Linked DNA regions of Homo sapiens: region 2 is linked to region 1. Evidence: promoter capture Hi-C in human tissues and cell types (Jung and others, 2019). All regions are on one chromosome and are shown on one strand. Each heading gives the region's core, a stretch centred on a gene start or on the middle of the fragment in contact. The rest is flanking DNA. Distances are from core to core; before and after follow the strand shown.

Region 1 (5,822 bases), core at 1,633-4,132:
GAGGAGGAGAAGAAGAAGAAGGAAAGGAAGGAAAAACAGAGAGAAGCCCGGGTGTCAAGAAGGCGCAAACTCGGTGACAGGCTCTCAGGAGGCTCCTGTCTGCCTCATTTTCCTTCGCAGCCCCAAGCGCACTGCAGGGAACTTGGCTGTAAGTCCAGGAGCGGGAGCCTTGAGTGTCTCCTACCTTCACCCAACTTTTGTGCACACTCTTGTCTTTTTGACGCAGCGCTCCACCAACACCAGGGATGCATCCCAGCTTTCTTGGATGTGATGCTTTGTAATCCAAATTAACAATATATGATGAAAACAAAATATTTATTGGCTCCTGACTTTTGGCTCAGAAACTGAGGTTCTCTTTGAGAGATACATAAAGTTGAGGTCCACATTTGGCTTCTTAAAAAGTAGCCTCTCCCTCCTTTGGGGTCTTTCTGGCAAGCAGGTGGTGTGGGCTTCACCCTGAAGTCTTCCTTTCACCCAGGGCGACCCCTACAGCTGAGACTGTGCCCACCAAGATGCAGCGTTTTCCTCCCTTCTCACTTCTCTCCTGTCTGGGCTTAAACCCCGTTTTACCCCAAGGGTGGATAGAAGGGAAATGCTGAGTTTTCATGGGATCTCACGCCAGGAGAAAATCAGGAGCATGGAAGGGGTGCAAGTTCATGGCAAGACGGGACAGGACTCTAAATGAGCCAGTGCGATTGGAACCAGACTCCTAATACCCAAGGCACTGGCACAATCTCCTGGAGGGGGATGGAGCTGTTTGGTATGTAAAGTTTGAGGACAGAACAACTTCCTTCAGAGACGTCTGTGCTCAGATAAACTGAGGCCATCTCCACTTGCAAAGAGGAAAAATTCTGAGGAGGGTTTGTTTTCTTAGCGCATCGAAAGGTAACAACTGACCTTCAGCCAGGCTGCAGAGCAAGGAGGACCCCATTTCAAAGTCACAGATCATGCAGGCCCTGGGGCTGCACAGCACCGCAGGGTGGGCCAGCACCCTGCGCCCTTCTGTTCACAATCCTGGAGTTCTTGAGGGCAAGGTGGTTAGCTGCGATGGAGGAAGGCATGAAGCCCACCGAAGGTGTCTTCCCTGTCCGGATCGCTACCGCGGCCTTGGGCTCAGTTCCTGGAGCCGGCCTCGGGTCCGGCCTCGGGTCCCTCCTCGGCGGCGTCCACTGCTGCCGCAGAAGAGACGCTCCCAGGATTTGGTTTCCAGTGGGAGAAGGAAGGCGCCGCAAATACCATCGGCTGCGAGGCGACTGTGGTGGTCGAAGGAACGTGATCCTTTGTCAGCTCAGCGGAGCCGAAGTGATCGCCGAGTTGGCTGAGCAGCGCCGAGGGAGTTTAGAATCCGCTGCAGAAAACCTACCAGCTTCTTCGCGGACACAGCAGGTAATGTTCTTAGGCTTCTGGAGTTAGTGAGTAGCCGGCCTGCAGGCCGGTAAATAACTCCGATCTAGCCCCTTGGTTTATTTCTTTCGTTCGCGCCTTGAATGGAGGCGCCATGGCACAGTCTGGCAGAGGAGGCCTGCCCTGGCGGGCGCTACTCAGGGCCCCTGCGTTGAGAATGCCGAGTGAGGTGCTGAGGTTTGGAGAGAAAAAGGTGGCGTTTTCATCCCTTGGAATATCGGGCCTCTCCAGCTGAAGCCTCCGGATCGACACAACACAACTCCCGGATCGACGCAACACAACTCCCCGCCAGCCCCTTCCCTTCCAGCGGGCTGGACACAGGTGCGTGGGCCTCGCAGCCCGGCGCGCACGGTTGCGCCTTTGGATACCTGCGACAGGACTCGGCCAGAACCGTGTCCCAGGGCAGAGAAAACCCTGGCAACCTTTAACGTTCTCCCTGACGCGGAGAATCCTGCGCCAACGGGGCCTTCCACTTCGGGAGACTCAATCGCCACCCGGTCCCCAACTTTCGTCTTCCAGAAGAAAAATCCATGAGGAGGAATGGGGGGGTCCCCCGACCAGACCAGCAAGAAAGGGCCCAGTTAGGAGTGACCTCAGCGCCACGAGGGTTCCACTGCTTTGATGGCCACACGCTTTTGCAAACGGTTTGGGGGTGGAGAGACACCAGGTGATGGTAGGGAAGGGCGGTGGTGACTGGCACGGCTAAGACACTGCGGAGGGTTTCGCTGTGGAGATGAGAAGGTGGAGGTTCTGGGCACTGTGGCTGCGAGTGTGAGCGATGCGTTTGTGGGAATCAGAGGAGCGGATTTGGGAAAAGTGAATCCTTGAGATTCAGGGCCTTACTTTCGTTAGGGGTGTGTGAAGCACACTGGGTGTCAGGAGAGGATGGGAATGGGATTCGAGAGGCCTTTTTTTGGACTCCTCGAGAGAAAATGGAGAGAGTCTCGAACCCAGGAGATAGGAGGCGTATTTTCCCCATGCACCCATGGATCACGCCCCCGCCCCCACATTCCCCCCGTAGGAGGCAAGACCTGAGCGCTTACTCACGTGGCTCCCCCATCCGTTCCGCGTCCATCTCCAAGACTGCCTCACAGGGACCCCCAGGAGGCTCCGAACCATCCAGCTTTCTGTCACCGCCGCCGCCACCAGCGTTGTGAACCTCTGACCCTCGCGGCTCTGCGTCCATTCTCAGGTACTGAAAGTTTTCCGGGCTCTTCCGCACCCGCGGATGTGGCGAAGCCGCGGGGCAGCTCCGCTCGCGCTCCAGTCGCAGGATGTCCTTGACCGAGAAGGGGGTGGAGGTGACGGGGCTCAGCAGCATCCCGAAGGCGGATGGGGCGGGGCCGAGGAGGTCCGGGTGAGGAGCGGCACCCTGAACTTCCCGTCTTGTCGCTGCAGGCCCCGCAGACAGACCCAAGCTCTGGGACAGACGCCCAGCGTCCCAGACAGCGCCTTCCTCTGGGCCATGCTGGTAGGCCCGGGTCCAGGGCCGGGTGACGAGACCGTAGCCCCCCATTGGTTCTCGCAGAAACCACGTGCTAGCTCTGCACCTTCCTCCCCCAGCGCTTTCTTCCCGCGCCCGTCGAATCCTCTCCAGTCCCCAGTCGCCTTCCTGGGAGGTTTGGTTCGTATTGACGGTTCTCAAAGCAAAGAAAACGTGGAGAGACAGTGCTGCGCGCGGCTTGGATCTCCGTCAATACGGTACTAGCGGGAGCTTCCGAGGTCAACCTAGGGTCCACGGGGACCCTCCTAGTGGACATGCGGGGATTGGAGGTGGAGTCCTTGCTGTGCAACCCGATCCGGTCCATCCAGCCTGGTCTTAGCTCAACTCTGCATTCTTATGGCGGAGGAAAGCTAAGATAGAGACAGCTGGGACCCGCGGAATTTGAGGCGCGCGCTGGGATCTTACGTGCGCAGAGGCCGGACCGCAGAGTAGAAGTGAGTCTTGACCCACCAGGGCCTATATTGAGATGGAAACCTCTCTCTTTGAACAGAATCCAGGTCTGCGGAGTCCCGACCCGCCACTTCCTAGGAGCAGCTTCTCAGCCCCAGGACCGAGGAATGGGTGTGGGGGCTACATGTGGGGAGCCCTCGACCTCTTAAAGGGCTCCGCGAATGGTGGGGGAGACTGGAAGGCAATCTCTGCGGCCCGCGCAAAGTGGTCAGAGGCGGGAGTGGGGGTGGGGGGGGGTGGGCTTCCGTCGCCCTTGGCGTCCCCACGTTCTTTTTCTTCCTCTCCTTTATCCTCCTTAAAGCGGATTGCCTGGAGCGTGCCAGCTTGTGTGCGCGTATAAATGCGGCGCCCGCCGAAGGGCTGGGAAGATTTGACTCGCATTAGATCTCCAGAAAAGGCCCTTGGTTACGGCGGGCACCGAGTAAATGGCGCAGTGTGGCACAAAGGTTACCAACACGGAGATAGCGCCAACAGATCCAGCCCCTGCTGTTACTACTCCTGGATCAGGGAAACGTGATTTGGTGTCAGCTGTTCCAGCACTGAATCGAAGAGGGTTTAAAAATTGTGTTTTAATCACAATGGGATCTCATTAGAGTTCTTTTGGGGATTTCAGATCAAATGTTTCTTTTTGTTTTTCTTTCCTTCCTTTCCCTCCCTCCCTCCCTCCTTTTTCTTTCTTTCTTTTCTTTCTTTCTCTTTCTTCCTTTTTTTTTTTTTTTTTGGTTACAGGGTCTCTCTCTGTCTCCCAGGCTGGAATGCAGTGGCCGGATCATGGCTCGCTGCAGCCTCGACCCGGACTCAGTGATCCTCCCACCTCAGCCTCCTGAGTAGCTGGGACCACAGATGCAGCCACTAAGCCTGGCTATTTATTTATTTATTTATTGCTTGTAGAGCCGGGGTTTCGCCATGTTGCTTAGGCTGGTCTTGAACTCCTGGGCTCAAGTAATGTGCCCACCTCGGCCTCCCAAAGTGCTGGGATTACAGGTGTGAGCCACCGCGCAGGCTTCAAATGCTTCTTAAACCTACTTACGTGAATTCAATGTTACAACAGCTGTTTGAATATGATTATCTCCTGAAATTCAGATAAACCCAACTCATCTCCCCAGGCTAATGGGTGCAAAATTGCACACAAATATTTATGCAAAATTTCAGCACATTTGATCATTCAGCTACAAAGTAATGATTTCCTATACATGGTAACATTTAATCTTCACATCAAAGCTATACCCAAATATTTCCAGCTGCTGCTCCTTCTTCTTCTTCCTCCTCCTCTTCTTCTTCTTCTTCTTCTTCTTCTTCTTCTTCTTCTTCTTCTTCTTCTTCTTCTTCTTCTTCTTCTTCTTCCCCTCCTCCTCCTCCTCCTCCTTCTCCTTCTCCTTCTTCTTCTTTTGTTCAGCGAGGAGTCCAGATCAGAGAGGTGGCCCAGATAGTTCACCAAATGGCAAGACCAGACTAGCCTCTAAACCAAGACAATTTACCCTGTCTTTCTTTCTTTTTGAAATATACATCCTTTGCTCTTAGAGATCTCAAAATCTTCTGATGACCCATACATTTATTTGAATTTTTGTTTCCTGATAAAAGTCATCATGCGCACCTTGGAAAAAGTGAAGAAAAGTTAAAAGAAAATATCCACCCAGAGACAACATTTTAGTGGACCTTCTTGTCTTTATTTCTGTATATATGAGCTCATAGGGTATATATGTTTGTATATGTTTAAATTTACATCATAAGCATGCCCAGTTCATCTTTAGAATTTTTTAAACAAATATAATTTAAAATAGGAATCTAATATTTCATGTTATTGATAGACCGTAGTAGACTGTGTTTGTATTTTTAGATAATATCTTTTTTTATCACTGTAAATAAGACTTTATTTTGTGCCTTCAATTTTCATCCTTGTCAATATTTTCTGTTATTTTCTCAGGATACATATGTAGAAGAAACATCAATCAGTCAAATATTTTAATGCTCATAAGACATGCCATTCCAGGGCTTCCTAGAAAAACAGTATTATCGTATTTTGTTCCCGGAGGTGCAGGCGAGTGCCTGGTCTACGGGTGTTTACAATCATCACCGGGCACCCACAAGAGACCCTGAACTTAGAATATTTCCGCGGTAGGAGTTCCGCCTCGTCCTTCCAGGGGATACTGACGACTCGCTGGGTTCTCGCCTTCCAAGTGCTGGAGGGGGGAAGTAGGGCCACCCGGGGTAGAAACCTAACGCCAGAAACCTTCCAGCGCCTTATCAGTTGGTGGAATTTTCGTGGCAGACAGTCGCGCTCTACCTAAGTCGTAGAAGAAAAGACACCTTGTGGGGGACTTGGCGTCGGAAGCCTTGAGTTCAAATCGTAGCCCTAGGTCCCCAGCCTTGCCCTTCCTGGCTTGCTGCGAGGATGAAATGAGATTTTTGTACGTGAAAATGCTTTCTAACCCCTCTCGAGGGGTGGAAACGTCTCCATTCGACC
Region 2 (5,822 bases), core at 2,259-4,758, 220 kb before region 1:
TCTGGGGCAGCAGTTTCAGTAGCGTGTGTGTGTGTGTGTGTGTGTGTGTGTGTGTGTGTGTGTACACCTCTGTATTTCATATACACACTCCAATTATAGCTTCCCATTATCCACTGAATGACATTTAAAGGATGAAATTGAAGTGACTTGGACAAAAGTCATAAAGCTTCTGTGCACAAAATACATATTTGTTGTTGTCTGTATAGGTGTCTCATGTGGGCAGAAGGTGCCCGACTTTTCCCTGTGTCAGCCTGCAGCACCTCAAGGAGTGCCTGGCACATCACGTGGACTCAATAAAAATTTTCTAAATAAATGAATGAAAGAAAAAACATGAATATTTTAATGATATCAGAATCTTAAAGTTTCAGTTTCTTCATCTGTAAAATAGGTATGATTATTTTCTCTCCCACTAGATTAAAAGCTTCTTAAGGGTGGGGAATGGATTGTATTCCGGGTCGTGTCCCTAACACCAGGCGCACTGCTAGGGACATAGGATGTACTCAATCAAAGTCAACTGGCCAAAGTGAATTCCCTGAAACTCCCAGGAGAGGTCTGAGAATGGAAGAAGTAAGGCCTAGAACATGCCCTGGACCCACCTTCCTTCCTTCCTCCCTCCTTCCCTCCCTCCCTGACTCTCTTTCTCCCTTTCTCCCTTCTTTCCCTTCCTTCCCTTTCTTCCCTTCCCTCCCTTCCCTCCCTTCCTTTCCTTTCTTTCTTTCCTTTCTTTCTTTATTTGCTTTCTTTCGACGGAGTCTTGCTCTGTTGCCCAGGCTGGAGTGCACTGGCGCGATCTCTGCTCACTGCAACCTTCACCACCTGTGTTCAAGCAATTCTCCTGCCTCAGCCTCCCGAGTAGCTGGGATTACAAGCATCCGCCACTACCCCTGGCTAATTTTTGTATTTTTTTTTTTTTAATAGAGACGGGGCTTTACCATGTTGGCCAGGATGGTCTTGAACTCCTGACCTCAGGTGATCCACCTGCGTCAGCCTCCCAAAGTGCTGGGATTACAGGCGTGAGCCCCTGGGCCCAGCCGCCCTGCACATTTCTTAGAGAAGAGCATTTTGGTGTTAAATTATTGAAATGAATTGTATTATCTGCCCCCTTACTGCAGAGTCTCATGTGCGAAGTCCAGGGAAAAGTGGTCCCTGGAACCCAAAACCAAGCCTTGTGGATCCCAAAGCCAATTTCCTCATTCCTACTGGTTTCCTTCTTATTCTGCCTCCATTAAAATGTCAGATGCCTCCATTGTGATCATTATCTCACTGCTTATTATCAGGGATAAGCAGAGCTTCACTGAGTGCAGGTAGAAGGCACAGGATTAACACCTGGAAGGGGGCCTGCTTCAGGAGTTGGAAGAAACGCCTGCCAAACCTCACCTGTCAGCCAGGGCCACGCGGCCAGAAGCTGTTTTCTGAGCTCACCTAGGCATTAGCACCTTGGTTGTTGACCCCTGGGAGGAGATTTCTTAAAAGTACCTTGCAACCATTTTATCCCTTTGCCATTATTTTTTTTCCAGGGGTGAGAGGAGAATTCTGCCCCCATAGCTTGTCAACATCTCTTCAGCTTGGTGGCCCACCCAGTCCACCCAGCAGAGCGACCTGCCCCACACCAGTGGCTCGCATGGGCCTTCTTATCTCCTTGGCCCAGCTGAATCTTGGTGAGCTGGTAGCGAGTTATGATCTGGGCATCCTGGAGGAGCCAGCTTCCAGGGTAGCATCAATTGCTGGGAGGGGTCTGTGGTCTGGAAGTCACATCTAGAGGTATGCAGCAAAGCCAGGTCAAGGCAAACACTATTGCCTTGTAGTTGCCTGAAGGGATAATCAGCGTGGCAGGAGGGTGTGGGAGGAAAAGGGAATAGTGGCCCCGCCCATTTCACCTTGGTGCCAGGGTGGAGTTCACAGACTAATTACAGGTTAAGGAGCTTAAGGCTTTCCACATTGCTTTCTTCCTCCTCTGTCTGCCTCACCTTCTCCTTCAGAACCACCAGGACCTATAGCAGTCCCACGGTGCTCTCCAGTCTCAGGGTTGGTGGCCAGCGTGGTGTCCCTGTGCTTTACCATGTCTTTCCATTATGTTTTCATTGTTTCTTTTCCTGCCCCATCTTGGTGCCCAGTAAGCCTACCCCCCCATTACAAAAATAACTACAACAAAAATAATTTAATACTGATGAGGCACGTCAGGCATGCAGTATCTTATTACATTGTCAAACCACGTGGATTGGGTATGTCATGCCCATTTTATAGCTGGGGAAATTGAGCCCTGGAGAAATTGAGAAACTTGTCCAAGGCCACCCAGCTGGTAAGTGGCTGGCCAGAGCCCCCACCCACACCTGCCCATGTGGGCCTGCTTCAAGGTCTGGATCACTCTGGCATCTTCCCAACTCAAATCCACCAGTTCTTCATTCCATCAGTCAGCCCTCCCAATCAGCAAGTGACCAAGGAATCCCACCATGGGCCTGGGCACTTGAGGGGACATGAAAGAAGGCCAAGCCATGGCCTCTGCCCAAGAGGAGCTGAGGAGCTGGCTGAGGAGAGAAGAAAAACACCCATAGAACAGTGAGGGAAGAAGCCAGACAGTGCTGAGATGATTTGATTTGCATTTGATGGCTACAGAGCTGGAGTCAGAGACTTAGCTTCGCACACATCCCCTGTGTGAGCGATGCCAAGCCACTGCCCTTCTCCGGATCTCAGTTTCCCTGTCTGCAAAATGAGGGGGTTGTTCTAGAAGATTGTACGTATACAAATCATACTTGCCTGTGATCAAGGGAGCATAACCCTCTTAACGGGAAAGTGGAGAAACTGAGGCCCCGGGATTAAGACTGTCCCAGAAAGTAACTGGAGCAAAGCCAGAAAAGAAAACCAAACCGAGATTTGGCCCATAGGAGAAAATCGTTGTGTTGCTAAGAATAGGACTCCACACCCAAGAGCAAGCCCTGGGAGCCCTGCGAGTTGCGGAAGAGACTCACTGACTTCTCAATGCTTTTGTGCCTGACAAAGCCCTGAGGGCGTCATCCTGGTGTGGATTTCCCTTGGTTCTTGGGCACTCAAGGAGAAGCAAATTGGTTGATTCTGATCCTTTCACTGCCAGGGTGCTGCGGGGTACCCTGGGAGCGACCAGGCTCCCATGAGCCATTTCTAAGTCATTTTCCTTAGAAACAGGAAACAGTGTTCAGGTTTGGAAGAGTGACTGAAACGAGACACTGAGAGGTTGGGGGTTGGAGGATGGGCTTCATCTGTCAGGCTGTTTTTCCTTCAAGGCAGCTGGATACAGATGCACACACAGCTCGCAGTGTGTCCTAAAGAAGGAGGCATTTGTATTGGCTACACAGAGGGGAGATCTAGAGTGGTTTTTTGCATTCTATTGTTGCAAAGTCCTGTTCTTAGCTGTATTGCCTGTTTCTTCCAGGCTGACACAGGCCTGCTGATCCAGGATGAGTGTGTTTTGAAGTTGGATGAATGTCACTGCCCCTCCTTGCCATGTTTCATAACAATAATTGGTTATGGTGCCAGCTTAAATGTGCACAGCATAAAAACCACTTCCACAACACTTCACAAACATTACCTCAACTTGTATGTAATTGGAGCAAGATGGGATATACTTCATAATGTCCATTTCACAGATAGGGACATTGAAATTCATGATTTTTTTTTCCACCAAAAAAGGTCTGTTCATGATAAAAATCTTTACCTAAATTCTATGGGTGAAGACATTCTCTATCACTTGAGGAACAGACATCCATATAGTACGGTATTGAGAAGTGAAGCCAGCTGGATTTCCTGGGTCGAGTGGGGACTTGGAGAACTTTTCTGCCTTACAAGAGGATTGTAAAATGCACCAATCAGTGCTCTGTAGCCAGCAAGAGGATTGTAAAATGCACCAATCAGCACTCTGTAAAACGCACCAATCAGTGCTCTGTAGCTAGCAAAAGGATTGTAAAATGTACCAATCAGAAGGATTCTAAAAGTAGCCACTCTCGGGGAGGATTGAGAAAAGGGCATTCTGATAGGACAGAAACGGACCATGGGAGGGGACAAATAAGAGAATAAAAGTTGGCCACCCCCCCAGCCAGCAGTGGCAACCCACTCGTGTCCCCTTCCACGCTGTGGAAGCTTTATTCTTTCACTCTTCACAATAAACCTTGCTACTGCTCACTCTTTGGGTCTGTGACATCATTAAGAGCTGTAACACTCACCGTGAAGGTCCACGGCTCCATTCTTGAAGTCAGTGAGACCACGAACCCACTGGCAGGAACCAATTCCGGACACAGTATGATACGCAGGTGACAGAGGTGAACTCAAATGACCCTTCCTGTCTTCCTAAGTCCCATGATCCCATATTATCTCTTTTCTTTCATCTTCTTTTCCCTCTTTCATCGCTTTATACCCAAAGTCATTCTCTATATGAACTTTCACTTTCCACTCCTGCTAAAGATCTGGTAGACCCAGGGCTTTCTATACCCAAAACCCTGTTCTCCTCCCAGCTTAGGACGGAAACAATAGGAGGGTGGGCTACATGCACCTTGTCTCTTATAACAGCATAAATTTATATGTGTGAGATGCTGTCAGCTTTTATAAAGTTAAAAAAAAGCTGACAAGCATGACTTCATACCTGAGATTGGGGGTGGGAAGGGCAGTCATTTCTTAAAACACTTACTGTGCCAGGTATTTTGCATAGAGTAATCCATTTATAATCTCAGGGACAGCCCCGCCCGGGAGGTTTCATTACTCCGCAGATGAGTAAAGCAACTTGCCCAAGGTCACTCAGTTAATAAGTCAGATCTGGGATTTCAAAACGGGTCCATGTATTCTTAACCACTACACCCTGCAGCCGTGGAAGAGCAGGACTCGAACTCCGGCTTCCTCACCGTTCATCCAGCACCTTTTTCACGATCAGGGCTCCCCATTCTGAAGTTTATCTTTGTGCTATCTCTAAAAGAAGGCCTTTGTCAGTGCTCACTGCAAATAAGATCAGATGAGCACTGGGGCAGGCTGAATAATGCCTCCCTCCAAAGACGGTCTCATGCTAATCCCTGGAACCTGTGTCTGTTACTTTATATGGCAATAAGGACTTGCAAGGGTGACTAAATTAAAAATCTTGAGATGGGGGACTATCCTGGATTATTTGGGTAGATTCTAAAGGTAATCACAAGGGTCTTTTTAAGAGGGAGGCAAGAAGGTGAAGGAGGAAGTAAGAGGTGTGAGAATGAAAGCAAGAGGTTGCAGTGATGGCAGTCATGGCTGGAGTCCAGGTGGCTCCGGGAACTAGGAGAAAAAGGAAACACTCTCCCCTGGAGTCCCAGGAAGCAATCATCTGGGTGGTTGATTTCTGCTCAGTGAAACTGATTTCAGACTTCCTGCCTCCAGAACTCCAGTAAGAGAATCAGTTTGTTATTTTAAGCCCCCAATTTGTGCTAATTTGTTAGGGTAGCCATAAGAAACCAATATAAGTACTAGTTACCTGCCAAGGGTATTAAACTATTTAAAGCGCTTAAATGTATCCTTTTGTATGTAAATAACGTCCAGTAATTCACTATAAGCAGAAGCCATGATTGTTCTTAGGCTGGCGCTTGGGTATTTGAATTAAAATGTATCTTGTTACTCATTAAAGCCAAAGCTATACTAGGTCAGGCTTTGCAAGCCTAATTTTTTTGTTGTTGTTGTTAAGACAGAGTCTCCCTCTGCCACCCAGGCTGGAGTGCAGTGGTGTGATCTTGGCTCCCTGCAACCTCTGCCTCCTGGGTTCAAGCAATTCTCCTGCCTCAACCTTCCGAGTGGCTGGGCCTACAGGCGAGTGCCAACGCCCGGCTAATTTTTTGTATTTT

What was found. Contacts are between HindIII fragments. The study calls those that stand out against the background at their distance.
Region 2: a contact is called between a fragment that was not itself captured here and the fragment with the promoter of NKX2-6 in region 1, in 1 of the 25 tissues and cell types used here (H1 embryonic stem cells).

The regions. Positions count from the first base shown.
Region 1 is chr8:23,703,874-23,709,695 of GRCh38, forward strand. NKX2-6 (NK2 homeobox 6) reads right to left here and starts at 2,883. Exons shown (of 2, transcript NM_001136271.3): 1 at 2,452-2,883. The coding sequence starts at 2,725. All of the region lies in intron 3 of LOC107986930 (a long non-coding RNA gene), which reads left to right. RefSeq lists enhancers at 603-1,502, 5,544-5,822. The HindIII fragment of the contact is 29,317 bases long and covers 1-5,822 here.
Region 2 is chr8:23,485,423-23,491,244 of GRCh38, forward strand. All of the region lies in intron 3 of ENTPD4-DT (ENTPD4 divergent transcript), which reads left to right. Among named protein-coding and RNA genes, the nearest start is that of ENTPD4-DT, 31 kb to the left of the region's middle. The HindIII fragment of the contact is 6,430 bases long and covers 294-5,822 here.